Regions from separate parts of the Homo sapiens genome. Here region 2 is linked to region 1. The links are contacts of gene promoters, found by promoter capture Hi-C in blood cells and fetal thymus (Javierre and others, 2016). All regions are on one chromosome and are shown on one strand. Each heading gives the region's core, a stretch centred on a gene start or on the middle of the fragment in contact. The rest is flanking DNA. Distances are from core to core; before and after follow the strand shown.

The links. The method cuts DNA at HindIII sites, captures the fragments that hold promoters and counts their contacts. A CHiCAGO score of 5 or more calls a contact.
Region 2: a fragment that was not itself captured here is called in contact with the fragment with the promoter of SKAP1 in region 1 in 1 of 17 cell types (endothelial precursors); the score reaches 5.9 in endothelial precursors.

The regions. Positions count from the first base shown.
Region 1 is chr17:48,427,413-48,433,399 of GRCh38, forward strand. SKAP1 (src kinase associated phosphoprotein 1) reads right to left here and starts at 2,802. Exons shown (of 13, transcript NM_003726.4): 1 at 2,663-2,802. The coding sequence starts at 2,708. RefSeq lists a silencer at 2,716-2,975. The HindIII fragment of the contact is 9,425 bases long and covers 1,204-5,987 here.
Region 2 is chr17:48,167,788-48,173,774 of GRCh38, forward strand. SKAP1 (src kinase associated phosphoprotein 1) reads right to left here. Exons shown (of 13, transcript NM_003726.4): 10 at 2,822-2,872. Among named protein-coding and RNA genes, the nearest start is that of MIR1203, 14 kb to the left of the region's middle. The HindIII fragment of the contact is 4,519 bases long and covers 1,523-5,987 here.

The DNA of each region.
Region 1 (5,987 bases), core at 1,552-4,051:
ATTTAGCATAGATCTTCGTGCATATACTACTTCATGACCTTTCACTTCAGTGACAGATTTTTAGAAGTGAGGTTTCTAGGTCGAGTGAAACATTTCCAAGTGTCTCAAATTTTATATTTAAACAAAATTAATTTTAGGCCTTGGGAATTTCTGTTCTCTTCATTATGCAAAATTTTGTTATCTACCTTTCACAATGCTTTACATATTTTATTCTTAAAAGCACACACATTATGTCAAAAAATGCCCCTGTCATTTATGCTTGTGTAGTTATAAATAAATAAATGCTTAAGTTATGGCTGTGATGTCCAGTGTTAAATCACTGTGCAAATGCTTATGCCTTGGTTTATGAAAGTAGTAATTCATTGTGGAAACCCCACCCCCACAGCCATGTGGCAGCACTAGAGTTGCAGCCCTCACATCCTGTGACTCCCTCCCACAGAGTGACTATATAGAGATCAGGACCTCCATTTTTTCTAATTGTCAACAGTTAACCTTAAAAAGTGTGTGGTGGGGGAGACAAATAGCAACAAACAACAAATTGATGGCCATTTTGGGTTTCTAATATGGACAGATTATTTGTAACACAATGAATAATCCTCCTGGTCTACACCAGCGACTGTGTTCCAAAAGAAATAAAACTTGTAACCAATATATTGCTATTATTATTACAGGAACCTTTAAAAAACATATCTTCAAACATTTTTCAATAGAATTACTGGATGAATCACACTTTACATTTTTTTCTCTACTTCAGATTCAAGTTCTAATTGCAAACTTAAAAAAAAAAGCCTTAAAGAAATACATTAACCAACGAAGCTCCTTATAATTTGGTTTCAGACTCCTCCATATATTTTAAAGACCTGAGCACCAACAGAGATTGTTAAGATACAGCAAGCTTGATACAGAAGTATGCGACATGCAATTAATCTCCATTCATACCCCGCTCTACTTGTCAGCAAACAAAGGTTCTGCTTTAGAAGGAGATCTGAAGACTTCAATTAAAAACAGTCAGCTAACAAGAAAATAATCTAAGCTAAAGGAAGGTGGCAGGTGCAGAAATGAGTTGTTTACCAAAGTGTCAGTTTTGAACAATGAAGAACTGCACATCAAAAATGCTGAAGGAATGGATTTCATTGCAAGCCTCTGAAAATAAAAAGGAATTTTCTACCAAGCCTAGACACAAAACTGAAGTATAGTTTAATAAGCTTATAAAATAGGTTTCCTCTCATCAAATGACAGATACCAATAAAAAGAATCAGTTTATATATTTCAATGCAAGGGCAGAGTTAAACTTTTTGCCACAGTCCCTTCTTTCCTAGAAACCAAAGACAATTACAGCCTTCCTTCACAAGCCTAATATTAAACCAACAACAGAGGGAAAGGCTGGATTGTTTCTTCTTAGACACCCAGATAATTCTCTTTTACCCTGCAAATAGTTTTCTACCCCCAAAATTTAGATTTATTCTGATCGTAAGTAAAACGGATTTTGGAAACCTCACCTCAAAAGAAATATCTAGCTGACAGCTTTTACATAGAAGCAATCCAGAATGGAAATAGTGCTACAGACAGAGACCAAAAGGACTTGCCAAATATTTGATTAGGAGGCATTTATACCGAGATAACAAGGTAATGGAGATATAAAACCAATTAAATTGAGAGAAACTGAAAAAAAATACTGCTTGCCAAAAATATGACCTGCCCAAAGCAGGCCGTCTGTTAAATATGTGTCAACTATGTCAACTTAGATGCCAAAAGGCTTAATTCTGAATAGTTTCCTCCTGGGAGCCTTATGCGACTGCAGATTCCAGGCCTCTGTCCTCCCTGGAAGGTTAGTTACAGGAAAGCAAGTAAAAGTGACTTCCACCACGAAACCCAGCAGATGAAACTGCCCGTTAGCAACGTCTCTTTGTGACATCTCTTTGGAGTGTTGGCAGTGTGTGTTGAGTGTTGACGGGGATGGCCGGAACTCTTTAAACCACCGCTTAGACACTGTAGTTGGAAGGTGAACACACCACAATGGGAGTTGGAAGGTGAACACACCACAATGGGGGCACTTCTAGAAAAGGAGGAAATCCCATACTGAGAATGAGCCTGCCTTGGGGTGGGTGAGACCCCTAGACGTCTGCAGGGTGATAAAGGGAGGGCTGGGGTTTTCGCACTGACAAAAACTCACGTCAACCACCTGGCCTTGGCCCATGGGGATCCCATGAGCCCCTCGCAGCCCCCTGGAGAGCCTCGGGGACCTCTAAGCAGGAAGGTTTGGGGTCTTCTGTGAGAGGTGAGGAAGTCGTGGCTGGGGAAGGAGGGGGACGGGAAACCCTACAGATGTAGGGCAGTCCTTTGGAGAAAGGGACAGGTCGGAGACCAGGCAAGGTGGCATGGGGGACCAAGAACCTGGCCTGAGGACTTTAGAAGCCGGGGAGGTGAAGTGGAGGCGTGGAGGTGCCTCAAGGCAAAAGAAGATGTGGGACTCCAGGGAGTGAAAGGGGCCCTGAGGTGAGAGGATGGAAAGCTGGCTCTAGGGAGTTGAGGGCTCTAGAAGCCTTAAGGTTCTAGAAGGAGGTGAGTGACGAAGCCGTAAAGAAAGCCTGGCCGTGGGAGGCCTGGTGTCCCCTTTCGGCCTTCGGCTCAGCACTGGAGGGGGCCTGCGCCAGGGCGTTACCTTCCAGGAGCCAACGGATCTCCTCAGGGAGGGCGGCGGCCTGCATTTGGCTGGGCGGGAGAGAGGCGGGACGGGGCGCGGGCCCTGGTCGGGAGGCGGACGGGCTGGAAGGCGACCCGGCTGCACCGCGAGGCACCTGTACCTCAGCCGCGGTCGCCGCCCGCCCAGCCCGGCCGCGGGGCGGGGCCGTGGGTCCCCGGGCGCGTCAGGAAGTGGCGCGGGCGGCAGGCGGGGACCGGAACGGGGCGCGGGGCGTGGGTGCACGTGGCGCTCACGCCGGAGCCCCACGGTAGAAGGATTGGGGGTGCCGGAAGCACCGCACCGTGCGAGGCCAAAGGTGCGCCCCTCCAGCACCCACCAAAACAAAAGACTTCACAAGGCTCAAAGGACCCACGGCTTTGGACACTCCATCCTAAGCACCGAACAGTTGACCTCACGGTGGCAGATTTGAAAGACCACGGGGTGCCTGAAGTAGGGTGCAGGGAGGCAGAATCCAAGGAAGAGATCCCCGTCAAGCATAGCACCCCTCAATTGCCGGTCCAGTTCACATCTCCATCCCCAGAAAAGAGGGCAAAACTTCGCTCTTTGGGAAGCCACAATGTTGAAAGGAAATGATTAATTCCCAATAAGCAATATAAGGACACCAACATTTGGGAGAATCGCGGCAGCGTGGCAGCAAGGGACACAGGAAACCAAACTGTGCTGTTCTCCCTCAGGATGGAAAGGCCCTGAGGAAAGGAAGGGGTAACACAGGGAGAAAGCTGAGGGAGAGGAGAACAGAGCCCTTTCCCTCCAGGAGCTGCGGAAGGGAGGAAAGTGAAGGACAAAATCACACGGTCTCATTCAAGGGACAGTTGGTGTCAGTGTCCTGGTTGTGACATGGTACTGTAATAGTGCCAGATGTTACCCTTGGGGGAAACTGGGTAAAGGTAGACAGAGTTCCTCTATTATTTCTGAAACTCTCTGTGAATCTATAATTCTCAAAATAAAGAGGTTTTTTAAGTACAATAGGTCAACTGCCATGAAAAAAGTATAAAGTGCTATGGTTGATAAAAGAAGGGAGCTGAATACCAGAAAAGGAGGGAAGAGGCCAGGCATTGTGGCTCACACCTGTAATCACAGCACTTTGGGAGGCTGAAGCAGGAGGATCACTTGAGCCCAGGAATCTGAGGTTACAGCCAACTATGATCACCCCAGTGTACCCCAGCCTGGGCAACAGAGCAAGACCCTGTCTCTTAAAAAAGAAAGAAAATAAAAAGAAGTGCCAGTGTGCATGTGAGTGTTTAAAGGTGCATGTGGTGTTTGAGATGGGCTCTGAAAAACACACCAGACTTTGAAGGGGCAGAGGACTTTCCAGGTGGAAGGACCAGAGTAAAGAAAGATGGAAGAGCCCTCACCAGCTTGAGGAATAGTTAGTAGCCCTCTTTTACTGGATGTTGTAGAAAGACTATGGTTGTCAAGATAAACTGCAGCTCTACTGTGAAGGGACTTGAAAGTCAGAATAGGAATGTTGAACTTAATTGAGAGGGCACTGGGGAGCCATTGACAATTTTTGAGATTGGGAATGACCTAACCAGAGCTCCGGGGTGGTATGTGGCCTCACACATCTCCACCTCTGCCTTTTTCCTTCTTTGTAAAAAATGGCATTTCTATTCTCAGACTCAACCTACAGAATATGTAGAAAAGATTAGGAGTGGTGGGAAAAGACACAGGGGGAAGTGGGTAAAATGGTTTTTACAACAGCCATAAGGGGAATAATGATGGACTCAATCTAGCAGACGGGGCAAGAGCAGTAAGAAGAAACCATCGAGAAGGATGAGTGTGATAAAAGTGCCTGCCTCCTTGTACTGTTTCCCATCCAGAGATACAGCCTCAAAGATGAGGGTGTGATCCTTTAAGGAGTACAGTGCATCCTGCCATCTGAAAAGCAGTGGTGCATTGGTTTCAGTGTCACATGACCCACCTACAAGCTGCAGTAAATTGGGGTGAGGGGACAGAGGCTGGCATGAGCCTCTCTGGGGTATCTGGCTCCTGCTCATCCTCCTTCCTGCCCTGAGAAAGTATAGTAATGGGTGGCTGGGCACAGTGGCTCACGCCTATAATCCCAGCACTTTGGGAGGCCAAGGCAGGCGGATCACGAGGTCAGGAGTTTGAGGTCAGCCTGACCAATATAGTGAAACCCCGTCTCTACTAATAATACAAAAATTAGCTGGGCATGGTGGTGCACGCCTGTAATCCCAGCTACTCGGGTGGCTGAGGCAGGAGAATCACATGAACCCGGGGGGCGGAGGTTGCAGTGAGCCGAGATCAGGCCATTGCACTCTAGCCTGGGTGACAGGGCAAGACTCCATCTCAAAAAAAAGAAAGAAAGAAAGAAAGAAAGTATAGCAATGGGCAGACTACCCCTTTCAGGCTTGGGATCAAGTACCAGGTACCCCCATGGCATTTTTACCAACTTCACCACTTCACCTATAAAATTGTAGCTGCTCTAGAATCATTTTGAAGTACTTATGAGGCATACTAAAAAGCAAGGAAAGATACATGGGAACTGTCTGTGCTATCATCTCAATTTTTTTTTGGTAAATCTAAACTGTTACACAAAAAATACAGCAAGGGCAGCAAAGTCTCCCCATATGTCAACCTAAACTTTGCCTTGCTTTCCTTCTTGGCAACAGAAGAAAATTTGATAACCTCCCCCTCTTCTTCAAGGATATGGTGTCACATACTAATATAAGCTACCAGCTAATGAATTGTTTGATAAAGAGCAGTAAACCCAGGTAATTGCACTTCTTTGCAGGCTTCACTGCCTGTCATAGCTTACTTACACCAAAAACTCACAGTGTACGTATTCTATATGCATCCTTCCTTACAAGAATCTCTGGGTTTTAGAGAGACAGGGGTAGAGGGAGGTGCACAGTCGGGTAGTATGTAGTGAGTGACTGGCAGATTCCAATACGGTATTGTCATGTTGCATCAAGGTTCCTCATTGCAGACAGAAATCTGCCTCCACACATGAACGCAGCCCTTCCTTAATCATCTGAGGACCCTGTTTCAGCAGTCAGCCCCACTCCTAATGACATTCTGTTAAATGGACAAATTCCTTTGAAGCCTTGTCCTTTTTTGAAATCCAATTTCGCAGGAAGCCAAATCTGATTGGGGGTAGCCATGGAAACCACATGGAGGAGTCTTAGAGGAGGTGAAGAGAGGCAAGGCAAAACGTGATAGTCACGAGTCCTTTACTGTTCTGTCAGAAATATCAAAGCAATCTGGAGAGGTTGGCAGTAGCTGAGTCCCTGCCTGGGTCCTGTTCTGTGTGGCTGGGTAC
Region 2 (5,987 bases), core at 2,532-5,031, 260 kb before region 1:
GCACATGCAAACAAATGGCCAGTAATTTCTATAAAAAACGAACACAGAGGAAGTTTTATTTTTGGTTACCTGGAGGTTACCTTTTCATGATAGGGAAAGGTGATAAGTTCTCATTACCTAAGACCCTTAATGTTAGACTACTGGGCTGATGGGTTGGAATTTAGTGAAACTCTGAGGTGTTGAAGAGTCACTCATTAAAATAACCCTGTTACTAACAGTCATGCTGTAAACTGAGCTCTTTATAGATTGAGCAATCAATACTACAAGGCTGTGATAGATTTTCTAGGTAACAGAATGAAATAAAAGAAATTACATCTTACAGGGTCATTAACACTCAATAAGGATGAACCGAATCCCTTCCCCCCTATTCTGATAAGATCTAGTTAGGCCTTCAGAATGTTAGCAATTCCATCAGAGAAAAAAGCACAGCATTCAAGGAACAGGATCCATCGAGGTTGGAGAAAAGTACTTGGATTTTAAAAGTAACTCTGCTAGCCATAGCATCTTTTGGGAAAAAAGGAAGAAGGGAAAGGTCAACTTGCTTATATATATTTTTCTCCCCAAAAGCATGTTAACACCTGAGAAAAGGCTGGGCGTGGTGGCTCATGCCTGTAATCCCAGCACTTTGGGAGGCCAAGACGGTCGGATCCCCTGAGGTCAGGAGTTCCAGACCAGCCTGGCCAGCATGGTGAAACCCTGTCTCTACTAAAAGTACAAAAATTAGCCAGGCGTGGTGGCACGTGCCTGTGATCCCAGCTACTCGGGAAGCTGAGGCAGAAGAATCACTTGAACCTGGGAGGCAGAGGTTGCAGTGAGCGGAGATAGCGCCATTGCACTCCAGCCTGGACAACAGAGCGAGACTTCATCTCAAAAAACAAACAAACAAACAAAAAAACACACACCTGAGAAAAACTAAGTAGCCCAAACTTGTGTAGCTTGTCTATGACATAGGAATTCACACTGTCCTAGAGCTCCCTGCCTTTTAAATGCCTTCACTGGGGCTGCCTGCCCTTCCCCCAGACCTCTATCTTTTATTGTTACAAAACTAAATGATGACATTTGGATTTATGTATTTTTCACCATTTCTATAGCGCCTTTGGAGAAAAGGCAGTATATAAAATCAATCGATAAATAAGTAAACACAAATAATAAAAATTCCTGCCTCAGATTCTGCAGAGAGAGCAAAAAGTCCTCCTGTTTTTTAATCACTAAGTCACCAATCATTATAACTGGTGGGAAGTGTAAACCATAGAAACATATTCAGAGCTTGCTATACTTTAACAACACTTATTTTGGAGGCAGGAAGCATGAGGAACAAAAGGTTTTTTTTTTTTTAAACCTACTTGAATTATAGCTGTAGGAACAGTTAAGAAATAAATCTCCTCTCACCTCCCAGATATAACCTTAGAGAAAGAGGTGGAAGGAGGAAATGAGATGAGGGAGGAGTCTGAAACTGGATTCTAGACTTTGCTAAAAGATCAATGCTTTCTGAATGGAGTTTAATATGAAATTGGCCATAGGAAGCTTACAGTTACTCCACCCAAGCTGTCCACATGAAGTGTTTCTTTTCTGCACTGGTGATGGAAGTTGGTTGAGAAAAGATATATGTGGAACATGGGCGGGTCAGAACAGATTTTCATTTGGAATTCTGTACAGTAAGTAGACAACAGAAGGAAATAGGTTTCAGAATGGACCTAATCACATGTGTTCACTATCATGAGGTACTTGCAGCTACACTCACATCCGTGCATCACACCCGCCTCCACTGCTTTCTTTCTCTCCTGCTTTGGCGCATGACTTCTGAGGCTGCATCTTCGTTGTCTCTTCTCTTCCCTGGGAGAAGCTGGACCCTTAGGAAGTTGGGTCCTGAACCTTTTAAGTATTCACTTTCTGTAGAGAATGAACCTAGAAATGGGGGTTTTGCTGGATGGATAAGGAGAGAAGAAAAAGCACAAGGAAAGGAGAGAGGAGAATAGGAAAAGACAGGGCTAGATAATGGAGAAGGAGCAGGGAGGGAAAGAGGGCAAGAATTCCTAGGCTTAAGATTTTCATAGACTCCCTAAGAAAAATATCAGCCAGTATCTAAATCAGTCATGATTAGGGCTCTGCCGACGGAACGAATGTCCTTGAGGTGGCCCTTGCAATGTGCAGCATTCCTTTACTGACAACCATGGAATAGGTCCTTGGTCCACTTAAGGAGGCTTCAGAGGGGCATCTGACCTTAGAAAGGATGGGCTCACTAACAGCCTGAAGCATGGTTAACAGTCTGGGATGAATAAGATGTAATTTTATATTCAACAAACCTGTTACATATTCATTTCCAAATGTGCCTGGAATCAAACCAGGCTATCAGAAGTCAGCATCACCAAGGAATTTTATCTTTCACCCTGTGTTCACTTTTCAGATCTGACACATTTCCATTCCCCTCTGAACTTGCAATCTCCGGGCCTCTCAGAGAGGAGACATTTCCATTCTTTCCATTCTCAATCCTCTGATCTCTTAGAGATGAGGCAATTCTATTTTCACTGTACTGATATAAGAAATATTGATAGGAAAAAATAAATGTCTGGTTTGGCTTCCCACCCGCTCTAGGATAAATCTTGGCTGTTCTGGGAACATTAATTAAAGTGAATGTATGGCTGCTTTTAAAGTTTAGGTATTTCCCTACCCAGTCACTTTATTTAGGGCTTTGGGGTTCACACACAGGTACCCTCTTAATTATTGAGTTCAGTAATTTTTGTAGTCTCAGAGAAAGGTGCTTTCTCTAATCAGAAGCCCATAATGTCCTACCCAGTGCCTGTGCATTTAGAAGCTCTTATACCTCCTTTTCGTCGAGTGCCACTCTCATCCTCTTCTAGATCATGCTCTTCATCTGGGGGGATAAATGATCAGTATTAGCAATTAGTGGTTCACAGTCTCATGTTCTTTTTTTTTTTTTTCGAGATAGAGTCTTGCTCTGTTGTCTAGGCTGAAGTGCAGTGGAACGATTTTCGGTTCACTGCAAATTCCACGTCTGGGGTTCAAGGGATTCTCCTGCCTCAGCCCCCTGAGGAGCTAGGAGTACAGGTGCCCACCACCACGCCTAATTTTTGTATTTTTAGTAGAGATGGGGTTTCACTATGTTGGCCAGGTTGGTCTTGAACTCCTGGCATCAGGTGATCCACCCTCCTTGGCCTCCCAAGGTATTGGGATTACAGGTGTGAGCTACTGCGTCCAGCCAGTCAGTCTCATGTTCCTTATACGGAAAGGTCCCCTTTCTCTGAGCTCATCATACTCTCTTCTTTAAGGAAAGTTTAATTACTGTTGTTTTTTTTTTTTTTTTTTTTTTTTTAGGCAGAGTTTCACTCTTTGTTGCCCAGGCTGGAGTGCAATGGTGTGATCTTGACTCACTGCAACCTCCACCTTCCGGGTTCAAGCTATTCTTCCCGAGTAGCTCAGCCTCCCGAGTAGCTGGGATTACAGGCTCACAGCACCATGCCCAGCTAATTTTGTATCTTTAGTGAAGATGGGGTTTCTCCATGTTGATCAGGCTGGTCTCAAACTCCTGACCTCAGATGATCCGCCCACCTTGGCCTCCCAAAGTGCTGGGATTACAGGCGTGAGCCACCGTGCCTGGCAATTACTGTGTTCTTAAAAAAAATATTAATTTGTCACCTTCAAACTGGCCCTCTCCTTCCCTTCCCTTTCATTTATTCATAAGCATGTTGAAGTGCTCATTACATGCAAGACATTGCACTAGGAACTGGGGACAAGCAATAAACAAGACTGTCAGAGTTCCTGCCCTTGTGGAGCTTCCAGTCCATTGGATTATTTAGATGTCTATCACCAGAATCCTAATCCTTTTCCTCAAACTCCATTTCTCCTTCCCTCTGGAATTCTCTTCAAAATTATTATCTCTATGCAAGCATTCTCTCTAGTTTTAAGCATTCTAGAGTTAGGATGTTAGAGTGTGTGTGTGTGTGTGTGTGTGTGTGTGAACAACCCTCTGTGATTGGCTGGGTGCGGTGGCTCATGCCTGTAATCCCAACACTTTGGGAGGCCGAGGCGGGCAGATCATGAGGTCAGGAGTTGGAGACCAGCCTGGTCAACATGGTGAAACCCCGTCTGTGCTAAAAATACAAAAATCAGCTGGGCCTGTGGCGGGCGCCTGTAACCCCGGCTACTCAGGAGGCTGAGGCAAGAGAATTGCTTGAATCCAGGAGGCAGAGGTTGCAGTGAGCCGAGATTGTGCCACTGCACTCCAGCCTGGGTGACAGAGCAAGACTCTGTCCTGGGGAAAAAACAAAAAACAAAAAACCCTCTTTGATTAATTAGTCCTTAATCCTTAATGTATCCATCTTTGTTCAGCTGTAATGGAGGCTGGTCATGTACATAATTTTATGTTCCTAGTACTTGGGGCTTGTAGTTATCTTTTTACTGTTTTTATTCAGCATGTCTTGTTCATTAGAGTATAAGCTCCTGAGGGTAGCTGGAATGGTCTTTTAATTAATTGCCGTAGATTCACAATGGGTTCTAACTCAATGCCAGTGTCTAACTCCAGTCAAATGTTTATACGGTCAAAGTCATAACATAATTGGCCTAAGTTTCTTACTCCCATTAACCGGTTTCATCTCGTCACATTACCCGATAAAATAGGAATTGGACCCTTATAATGTAAATATGTGTACCAGAATCATATTTAGCTATTTTATACATGGGGCAAAGTGAAGAAAAATACACTCGTTATTCTTTTCACTACCACCATGCTCTTTTCCCACTCTCTCACTCACACATATATACACACATATGCACAGTAGATAGGGTATAGTAAGCAATGTTTTGAGGGCTGAATACTCAGCTCCTCCTGGCCACATTTACTTTCCTTTCTCCTGAGTCTTAATGACATTTGCTTGTCTTGCTTCTCCATAGTTTTGCCACTAAATGAAACTTTGACATTTCTCTTTCTTTTTTTAAATGTAATGTTTATAGGGCAATATGAGTTCCGGTATGCCAAACTGGGGAAGTAAGCTCCAAGCTCATAGGTAAGAAGGAGCAGCATAAAAATATATTAGAATACTATAAAGCATTAAAGGAGTAATTGATTTCAAGTAAGAAAGAGACTGATATGGCCAGGTGTGGTGGCTCATGCCTGTAATCCCAGCACTCTGGTAGGCTGAGATGGGAGGATCACTTGAGCCCAAGAGTTAGACACCAGCATAGACAACAGAGCAAGACCCTGTCTCTATAAAAAATAAAAATAAAAATTAGCTAGGCACAGTGATGCACACCTGTAGTTCCAGCTACTTGGGAGACTGAAGCAAGAGGATTGCCTGAGCCCAAGAGTTTGAGGCTGCAGTAAGCCATGATTGCGCTACTGCAGTCCAGCCTGGGCCTGGGCAACAGAGCGAGACCTTGTCTCTAAAAAAAAAAAAGGACGGATACTCTGGGAAATAAAATATATATATATATGCCCTACAATATAGTATGGGAAAAGGAGCACTTTGACTCAACAGTTCTTATAGCCATGTATGATCTAGCAGCAGAGAATGTTCTACTTGACACCTGTAGTGCTCCCTCAACCCTACCACGAGGAATAAAACAACCTAAGCTAATGGAGGAGTGAAATCAAATATAGGAAACAGATCATGCTGAAATAAACCACATTAAACATTCTTTGCACATTGTCTTCTCGTTACTCGTCCACTTCCTTCCTTTCTCAGCTATGATGCATTTCTTTTTTGACATGGGACTAATTTTAGGATTGGAAACATTAGAGGAAAAGTTGGTACAACCTCAGTTTTAGAGATACCCAATAATTTGGACAGAGAGCAGCTCTTTTGTTGATATCAAACAACTCCATCACAAAGACCAATAATTTGCTGTGCTTAGGCACTTTTGCAGAGGTTTATTCTACCTCTGCTGTCTGTGCGCAGCTGTCTCTTCCTCCCAATTCTAATCAATGTAAATTGGGTCAGATCTCCACTGTGAATTACAAATTGGATCCGAAG